Linked DNA regions of Homo sapiens: region 1 is linked to region 2. The links are contacts of gene promoters, found by promoter capture Hi-C in human tissues and cell types (Jung and others, 2019). All regions are on one chromosome and are shown on one strand. The core of a region is centred on a gene start or on the middle of the fragment in contact, and the rest is flanking DNA. Distances in the headings are between cores, read along the strand shown.

Evidence for each region. The method cuts DNA at HindIII sites, captures the fragments that hold promoters and counts their contacts. A contact is called where the count stands out against the background at its distance.
Region 1: a contact is called between a fragment that was not itself captured here and the fragment with the promoter of RGS17 in region 2, in 1 of the 25 tissues and cell types used here (bladder).

The regions. Positions count from the first base shown.
Region 1 is chr6:153,167,365-153,172,423 of GRCh38, reverse strand. No RefSeq gene overlaps it. Among named protein-coding and RNA genes, the nearest start is that of RGS17, 39 kb to the right of the region's middle. The HindIII fragment of the contact is 3,647 bases long and covers 1,854-5,059 here.
Region 2 is chr6:153,129,354-153,134,622 of GRCh38, reverse strand. It overlaps RGS17 (regulator of G protein signaling 17), which reads left to right and starts at 3,341. Exons shown (of 5, transcript NM_012419.5): 1 at 3,341-3,499. RefSeq lists a silencer at 3,410-3,459. The HindIII fragment of the contact is 10,722 bases long and covers 1-5,269 here.

The DNA.
Region 1 (5,059 bases), core at 2,428-4,927, 37 kb before region 2:
CTATTCCCTGCTCCCCTATTCCTGTCTGAATGCTGTATTCAAAAATAATTGAGTTGTGTTTGTTATCAAAGGAAGTTATACACCTTTTGGATCTAGAAGCAATATGTGGGCTCACCAATTAGTTTCTTGGGATTATAGGATAAACCATATCACATTTCATAGACATATAGAAATAGAGAGTTAGAGTATGTAACTACTCATAATGACAGTAAGTCTACAAACCTTTAAAAATTTATCTAATTTTTGTGTGTGTTTCTGTAGGTGTCTATATTCACACTGTACACACACACAGACACTGCACACACAGTGTCTATATTCACAGTGTACACACACACACACATTCACATTCGTGTGTGTGTATACACTGCACACATCTCACTATAAACTCTCTCTCTGGCAATGCCATCCATACTCATAGCTTCAGTTATCGCCAATAAAAAATAGCTCACAGATGTGCACCTTCAGCCCAAATAATTCCTCTGAGCTCCAGCCTTGTCTATTCAATGTCTTCTCAAAATATCCAAGCTGAACACACATCATGCCATCCTGTGGCTCCCTCTTCCCATGGGGCAGGAAGCAATTATGGGGAACCTTGGGCCTCTTTCAGTGTTTTCCCTTATACCAGCATCCACTAGGTACGTAGAGTATAAAACAGACACTTAACAGTCATCCTGTTTCCTTCTTCTTTCTCATCCTCGATATTCAATCGATCACCATATAATTTGTGTTTTGTTTGTTTTGTTTTTTTGTTTTTCTGGGACGGAGTCTCACTCTGTTGCCCAGGCTGGAGTGCAGTGGCACAATCTTGGCTCACTGCAACCTCCACCTCTGTCTTCCAGGATCAAGCAATTCTCCTGTCTCAGCCTCCCAAGTAGCTGAGACTACAGGTGTTGTGCCACCACGCCCAGCTAATTGTTGTATTTTTAGTAGAGACGGGATTTTACCATATTGGTCAGGCTGGTCTCGAACTCCTGACCTCAGGTGATCCACCAGCCTTGGCCTCCGAAAGTGCTAGGATTACAGGCGTGAGCCACCACACCCAGCCGTAACATGTGTTTTATCAGGTATTCTTCTGGCCTAGCCCAGTGTTTCCATGTCCTTTGACATCATTACAGGTCCAAACCATACAGAATTCTGAATAAGTTGCTTTTTGCCACACTAGATCAAAGCAAAAGCCAGAGTTGGGAATATAAAGTAAAAATTACTTCACATGCTAAACACCCCAGAAAGCATTTGGGGACCAGATACATCCTTGGGATTTATTAAACATCCAAACCAGCTAAAACCTACAGCTATCATCCCATCAACTCCCTCCAGTCTACATAATAAGATGACTATGAGGAAGGAAGGGACTCAAGGAGAATAGTAGAAGTTATGGTTACAGCATCGGTCTGTAGTTTTGTGATGCACCATCACCCCCACTGACACCATCCCTACTCCCATAAACTCAGGTGAAGTGGGCTCCAAGAAAATCTCTTATAGAGATTGGAAGATGGATTTTCATTGGCTTCTCTTTTTCTGGTAGATTTGTTTATACAGTTTACATATACTTAAGTAGTCACAATACACTTGTGTCTATTTAAGTGAAGAAAACAAAGAACTGAAAAAGAGATGTCAATTTAGAGAGGCAGCCCAGAAACAGCCTGATTTCCTACCTTTGCTTGGGCAAGGATGAGTAAGTGTCCCATGGGTCTGGTAGACACTGTGGAAGTTCCTGGGGTGTGACTCATCTTGCCAGCACCTTATGCAGGATGGTGGCTGCTGGGCAAGGAAGAGCCAGCAGTAAGAAGGCACAAGCAGGACATGAGAGATGGGAGCAAGGGCAGTGGAGCAACGAGGCAGCAAGGAGCCCCACTATGTGCTACGGAAAGAACCCACACATGCTCCATGGAAGATGGCGGCATTTGGGGAGCTGTCCCAAAGGGGACACTTGAAGCACATTAGAATTCACCAGAAAAACAATGATGGTCAAGAGAGGATGGCATCGTCATCACCACTAAGAGAAAAAGCATCTGACCCCTTCTCCCTTCATCTCTTCTCCAAGTTCTCAACATACGAAAGGAGAAATGGCTAGTGGAATGGGGAGAAGGTAGGGAAGCACAGATAGCACTTTGTCATTTTTGGAAGTTCTTTAGCCAAAGTTGGAAGAGAGGAGCATTCGAATGTGAACATGAGACTGAAGTTTTAAATGGGCCCCACGTGAACTGGACTAAATGATTAAACATGTGCACTCGGTATGGATCTGTTCAGATGTCACTAAGGGATGGGAAAATGAGATCTGAAAGAAGTAAGGGGATAAAATAAAACTATTTCATTTCATATTTGTGCTTAAAGAAATGTAGACTTTTTAAAGAACCAGATGTAAAACCTACTATCATCTTTCAACTAGACAACTATGTTAAATTGCTCCAGGTCTACCAGCATCCACTCTGGTCTCTCTCAAACGTGATTATGAAAAAATTACACCTAATTGTGTCACCCTCCCACCTCTAATTAAAACCCTCCCATTTTAAGACCTATTATTTTTAAGACAAAACGAAATGTTTTTATGTAAACTATGAAGATCTCAATTTGGATTCCACCTAACAACCCAGCATCATGTTTTTCCAACCTCTCTTCCTTTGCTATTTACTCCAGCCTTCTTTCAATCCTTCTTCTTGCCACTGTCTCTCATGCCACAGGACCTTTGCACATGTTCTTCTCCCTGGATTCATCCCACGTTTTTCACACTTAACTCTGAATAATTCCTTGGATCTTAGCTCAGAAATCATTTCCTAAGAGCATCCTTTCCTCTGTCTGCTACATCCTACAATTAGAACTCTGAAAGCATGTGAATCACTCCTTCACGTATTTATCAGAGATGCAATTTTGTATTAGTGTGTGTGTCGTTATTTGGTTATGTCTTTCTCTCTGTGTTTCTTGTCTTCTCCCGACCCCCAACATTGAGCTCTGTGATGACAGAAATGACGTCTATTAGGACTCATTTTTGTGTCCGCAGGTTCCAACACAGTATCTGGCACATAGATATAATAAGTCAATGTTTAATGAATAAGTGAACCACAAACTTTATATATTAGGATAAATAAAAATAATTGCTACTAAATTTATGACCCTAGAATCCATCCATAGCTTTTCTCTTAAAATTATTGTTATTAAATATGCCAATGATCTTAGTATTTCGGTTTCGCTGGTCACAGTCCATAAAAACTTGAAAAGTTCACTCTGAAATCCAAGACATAAACTAGATACCAAGTGTTAACCCTGTAATCTGTGTGCCCCGGGCCACAGAGATGCTGCTCCCTCAACATCCTTAGGTCCTAGAAAGCATTTAGGTAAACCAACTAGGGGAAAAAAAAGTAAAGAGTAGAAGAATACAGACCCACTAACAAGACCAAGCTCCCAATACAAAATGGAAGGGAAAGTATACCAGCAAAAGTACTGCGACAGTGGGTACATAGTAAGTCCTCAGCAAATGCAGGAGGATTCTCACAATTATTATATAGGCATAATGTTTTATTTGCTAATAAATCCTGACCATGTGCAAAATTCAGCTGCAATTTTCTTTGTGTTTAATTTTTAAATAAATCACTGTTTATAAAATTCTGACCAAGTTAATTTGTTTTTTTATACTCTTTATAGCAAACTTGTCTAAGGATCTAACTTTATGGAACTTTTTTTCACATTTTTAAGGAACAAATAGTACACTATGTTATTAGAATTCAGAGACAGTATTAAATTAAATTAATTTATTTTATATTTCTCTCTGGACACAGCTGAACCTTACAAACATGCAACAGCCAACCTGCCCAGCACCAGGCAACACATGGAAAACCACCCAGATTTCTCTAAAATCATTGGTTAAACGAAACTGTCATGGCTCAGTAGTACTTTGTGCTTTTGATACTGAAGCAACGTCAATGCTAGATGAACTTATTCTTAGTGAGAATTTGGCTGCTCACCTCTGGGAATATCATTTGAAAATAACCTAATGTTTTTAAGGTTACTCTTAGTGTGATTAAATAATTTCCAAATGGCTGCTCCAGGGTGAAGGATCTTTTTTTCTTTCTAGAAATAACTTCACCATTTTTTCAACCCCAGAATGTCATCCTCAATGTACAAAATAGATCATAAACTAAAACATTAAAGTAAAAATCAAACCTTATATGTACATCAAAGATTCAGCCTGTGTCAAACAGTGGCAAGCTTTATAAAGAAAGGAAAGAAGAAAGCCAGCACTCTTTGGAATAGAAGTGCTGTAATCCCTTACTAAAAACTCTGATTTAAACATGTGGTCTAAATACTGTAAGCACAGGAGTATCGCACAATTAGAAACATATTTAAGACAAGAATTTTTAAAAGACATGTTTATGCAATTCTGTACTTTACTCAATCTAAAAAGAGTGTGTGCAATCTTATTTATACATTAACCACTATCATGAAAACTATGGCTTAGATATAGCAGTGATAAAGTTTTTCAGTAATTTTTCTTGAGACTAGCAAGGTTAATCATTAGGATTAGTTTACATGAAAATGGCGAACTGCCTCTCTGTTTTTTCTTGAATTTCCATGGTGAGCAATAACCAAAAAAATTAGTATTCCTTCCATGTTATTCACGATTCTCCTATTTCATGACTTTATCAGTATCATTTGTAAAAAGAAATTATGTTTCTGTGGTTACTACTGTGAAAAGTCATTAAACAATGCAAGCAAAAAGCTTAAGATAAAAGCAGCATGCTTTCATTCTATTGCCAATATTCCACCGGTGAAGGCTGCACATCTATCCAAATCATGTGGGGAGGACTGAGATGCATGAGTAGGGTGGAGAAATAGTTGAGACCACTGCCCATTTTATGAGAATATAATGTTCACAACTCATTTTCAGGAAGCCATACTCTCTGTGTTTCAATAACAGTGATGAGTTTGTCCTGAGTCATCCACACTCTTGCCCAGATGTTTCTGTGAGTCAGCGCTTAATTTTTAACAAGTACATTCCGGGAAAACAAACATACAGCACAAGATATTTATATTAATTTTTAAATGTTCATGAAAATCAACATAA
Region 2 (5,269 bases), core at 2,092-4,591:
AGTGTTACAGCTCTTAAGTCAGCGCGTCTGGAGTTGTTCGTTCCTCCGGGTGGGCTCGTGGTCTCGCTGGTTTCAGGAGTGAAGCTGCAGACCTTCGCGGTGAGTGTTACAGCTCATAAAATCAGCGTGGACCCAAAGAGTGAGCAAGTAGCAAGATTTATTGCAAAGAGCAAAAGAACAAAGCTTCCACAGTGTGGAAGCAGACCGGAGTGGATTACCACTGCTGGCTCCAGCAGCCTGCTTTTCTCCTCTTATCTGGCCCCACCCTCATCCTGCTGATTGGTAGAGCCGAGTGGTCTGTTTTGACAGGGCGCTGATTGGTGCGTTTACAATCCCTTAGCTAGACACAAAGGTTCTCCAAGGCCCCACCAGAGTAGCTAGATACAGAGTGTCAATTGGTGCATTCACAAACCCTGAGCTAGACACAGGGTGCTGATTGGTGTGTTTACAAACCTTGAGCTAGATACAGAGCGCCGATTGGTGTATTACAATCCCTGAGCTAGACATAAAGGTTCTCCACGTCCCCAGCAGACTCAGGAGCCCAGCTGGCTTCACCCAGTGGATCCCGTACTGGGGCTGCAGGTGGAGCTGCCTGCCAGTCCCGCGCCCTGCGCCTACACTCCTCAACCCCTGGGTGGTCGATGGGACTGGGTGCCGTGGAGCAGGGGGTGGCGCTCGTCGGGGAGGCTCCGGCCGCAGGGGAGCCCATGGAGGGGGTGGGAGGCTCAGGCATGGCAGGCTGCAGATCCCGAGCCCTGCCCCGCGGGAAGGCAGCTAAGGCCCGGTGAGAAATCGAGCGCAGCGCCGGTGGGCTGGCACTGCTGGGTGACCCAGTACACCCTCCGCAGCCGCTGGCCCGGGTGCTAAACCCCTCATTGCCCGGGGTCGGCAGGGCCTGCCGGCTGCTCCGAGTGCGGGGCCCGCCAAGCCCACGCCCACCCGGAACTCCAGCTGGCCCGCAAGCGCCGCGCGCAGCCCCGGTTCCCGCTCGCGCCTCCCCCTCCACACCTCCTTGCAAGCTGAGGGAGCCGGCTCTGGCCTTGGCCAGCCCAGAAAGGGGCTCCCACAGTGCAGCGGTGGGCTGAAGGGCTCCTCAAGTGCCGCCAAAGCGGGAGTCCAGGCAGAGGAGGCGCCCAGAGCGAGCGAGGGCTGTGAGGACTGCCGGCACGCTGTCACCTCTCATTAGGAGGGTGTTGTTCGGGGTTGTGGAGGATAGAAATGAGCAGACAGAATAGGGGCTTTTGTGGTTGCCCAGGTGAGAGATGACAATAGCTTGGACTAAGGTTATGGCAGTAGAGAGGGAGCAAAGTAGATACCTTGGAAATATATTTTGGAGGTGAAGAAAACATGACTAATTAATTGAGTGCGGGGATGAAAGAAAGCAACAAAACGAGGATGACTTCTAAATTTTTGGAATGAACAACAGAGTAGAACAATTTGAGGAGGAACAGGTTTGGAGGGGGTGGATATCCGGAGTTCCGCTTCTGAGATGCCTGTTAACCATGATAATAATAGTATCTACCTTGTAGGGTTGTTGTGAACAACGAATACGAAATATGAGGAGAATTTAGATCTGTACCTAGCATGTAGTAATTGTTCAATAAATACCAGCTACGACAATTATTCCTCAAGTGGAGATGTAAAGGTAGTGAAGGACATAAGAGTTCTGTGTGAGGCCAGGACAGGACTGAAGACATAAATCTGAAAGTTATATAGGATTCAACGCTGCTCAAATCATTTTTGGTGAAGAACTTTTATCTTTATCCACCGCGAATCAATACTGCAGTGGACTAGCCGTGTTTGTCTCTCCAAAATTCGTATGTTCGCATTCTAACCCTCAAGATGATGATATAAAGAGGTGGAACCCTTGGAAGGTGGTTAGGTCATGAGGGTGGAGCCCTCATGAATGGGACTAGTGTCCTTATAAAAGAGACCCCAGAGAGCTCCCTTGCTCACTTCCACCACGTGAAGACACAGCAAGGAGTCAGCAGTTCATGAGCTCGGAATTGGGCCCTCACCAAATAAGGTATCTGCCTACATCTTGATCTTGGACTTCCCAGTCTCCAGAACTGTAAGAAATCAGTTTCTGTTGTTTATAAGCCATCCAGTCTATGGTATTTTGTTATAGCAGCCTGGAAGACAAAGACAAATACTTCTGTGAAATCCAACAAAAATGAAGACACTTTGAAGAGCACTAGTACTCAAAGCCATGGGAGGCCCTGGAGGAGGCCCTGAGACATATTTAACCCAAGTACCCGTGAGTCTATGAGGATGGAGGCACAGGAGAGTTCAGTAGGCTGAAATAACACAACGCTTGCTTACATGAACACACAAGGAAGGGGAACTCACACAGATTTACAAGTAATCTGTTTTAATTAGGTGTAAGAAAAAAAAGCCCATTCACTCCTGCAGGAACTCCCTCCTCTTCCCACAGATGTGGTATCTGAAGAGCAAGACACTGCTTCTCCACTTCCTCCGCACAAACACTTTAGTCTAATCATTGGAGATGCAATCTAGCGCTCGGGTTGCATTAAGTATCCCAAGCTCCTTCCCTACCAAGCTGGGCTCCACTTGGGCACAGAACGATTATCAGACCTGGTAACTACCAAGCTGTCCCCTAAGGATGCTCTAGGCCCCAAGCATCAGCACCTCCGTTAATAATTCTCCACTCTTGCCTTGTCATCGGCTTTTCTCACTCAAAACTCTGCTCCAGCGAGTGGTCCGGGCGCCTGAGGCAGCTGGCATGGGCTAGGCCAGAGAGCACCTGCACTGATTCTTAGGAGAAAAGGTCCTCTTTCTGGGCGAGGAAGTCAATAAAGTAAAGGACGCTTCATAAAGTCCTTCGGGAAGCAAAACTTGCTTAACTTCACACTTCCTTGAACCCCCACGCAGGGAATGCTTCCTCCGGGACCCGGAGCAGGCAGGCTGCTGTGCCTGGCAGGCCGGCTCCTGGGTGCAAGGCTCCCGCGCAGCCCAGGACAGCAGCGCGCGGGCTACGGGCGAGTGGAGTTGCAGGGGCCCGGGCGGAGAGCCGCTGTCACCCAGGGAAGCTCTCGGGACTCCGGGCCTCCCGCGAAGCTCCGGACGGGCGTCACCGAAGCCGAGAGTCCCGGCCGAGCCCCTCCGCACGGTGGGCGCCGCGCCCAGGCGAGCGCGCGAGGTCGGGCGGGGCCGGGGGCCGCCCGGGGAGGGGGCGGGGCCGGGACTCTCGCGGCCGCGCGCAGGGGCTGGGAAGCTGCCCCTCCGGCCGCGCCGGGCGAGGGGCTGCGCCGGCCCGCGAGGCGCATGCGCGCTGCCGAGCGGCTCTCGCTCCCTCCCCGCCCACCGCTCCCTCCTCCCCCTCCCCCTCCTCTGCATCCTCGCCGCTCTCCCTCTCTCCTCGCCCGCTGGGTGCTGAAGTTGGGCGGATGGCAGCAAACCGGCTCCGCTAGAGGACCGAGCCGCCCAGCCCCGCTCCCCCGGACCCATCGGCGCGCTGCCCACACCTCCAGGCGACCGGGTAAGACGCTGCCTCCAAAACAAGCGGTGCTAAGTAAATGACATCAAAATGTCTGCTTTGCACCAATGGATGGATTTTTTTCAAGGTAGGGGGGAGGTGAAGGAAGGAGGGGGCGGAGAGCGCGACCGCCCATGCCCCGGCGGGGGCGGCTGCGCGGCGCTGGGGTCTCAGCTGTGGCCGCGGCGCCCTGAGCGGGAGCGGGGGCCGCGCCGCGGGTCCGGGAAGTTGAATCCCGCGTCGCTGCCTGGACGCGGTCCGCTCGCCGCCCTCAGCTGCTGCAGGGAACCGGGCGAGTGTCCTGCCCGCCGGGGAACGCTCGGCCAGGTCCCAGAGTTCCCGCGGAGAGCGGGGCGCCTGCTGGGGGCGGCCGGGAGGGCCGGGCCAGGGGCGCGGGAGACCCCGCGGGGACGCGAGGTGTTGCGGGTTTTGTGCGGTTGGTTGGGAACGAGGAGAATGTGCCATCAACAGTGTCCAATCGACTGATCACCTTGGGTGCTGTGTTTCCTCCCTTATCTCTCTTTACCTTTGGGAAAATGCACTGCTCAGGTGGGGAAGGTGTTCGAAGAAGAGGTTGCGAAAATGAATCCTTTGACCAGCAGTAAAATACCGGAGGGGTGTGTGTGTGTGTGTGTGTGTGTGTATGTGTATGTATGTATAGGGGGTGGGGGGTCTCTTTTGTTCCTTCCCCTCCCCTTAGTCAAAGGAAAGGGAGTCCTGGCGTGTGCGGCGCGGGGTGGATTCCACAGCCACCGAGGGGGCGAGGACGAGGAACGCCCACCAACCGCGAGTCGCTGCCCGGGTGGGCGCATCGGAGCCTCCTTTGCTGTAGGTGATGGTGGTCTTTCCGTGATCGATGGAATCATAGTTTAATCTCTGCCTCCCCGCCAGCCTCCCTGCTGTCCCTCATCGAGTGCTGCGGCAGAGGCTGGGTGCAGACACGGCCGCTTTCTCCTCTTCTCTCTGCCTCCCTGTCTCCCTGAATAAATGCCGGAGGACTAGGGGATGGCGGAGGGACAGAGCTGGACTCGGAAGCCGCGGGTGGGAGCTGCTCCTCGCGAGCCCGAGGCTGCTGGCACCTTGTCGCGGGCAGCCCGCGCCAGCCTCGGGAGTCCCTGGGCTCCGGGAGAGCGAGCCGGGGTCGCCTGGCCACAAAGATGCCCGCGCGCCCGCCCTGCGTACGGGACCCGCCCTGCGCCCTGAGCCCTGCGCCTCGCCCGGAGCCCGGGACGTCGGTTCACGTGGGAGAACCCCTGTCGCCCGGGGACGATTGACCCTGGCTCCTGGCATAACTCTCCTGACCTCCCCTGACCTTTCCATAAATGCTTCTTTCAAAAGATTCACTATAAGATTTGTCTGGAGAACTTCACACTCTTCAGAGTTATTTCTTTCTTTTCTTAAATTGTTTTACGGCGAGATTCTCTCCAGCGTGGGATGGCTTTCACAAATAATAAAGAGAAATCTTAGTTTGGTTCCCATCTAGAATAAGCAGTTCTGAGGCTGGGTGCCATCTGCATTTCCGGCGTTCATACATACTGGTTTTCCGGGTGATGAACCCTTCTGAAAATCATTTAATTGAAGACGTGAGAATTGATTTTTATTAGTGTAGTGGAAAATAATGCTTTCCTCCTCGATTCACAACTGCCAGACGCTGCGTGTACGAAATAATTTGCAAACCGTGAAACATTTAAAGTACATTGTACTTGTTTCCGAAGTCTTCTGTAGTGAGAGTATTATCCAAGAAATATGCATTATAGCACTCCTATCTAATGG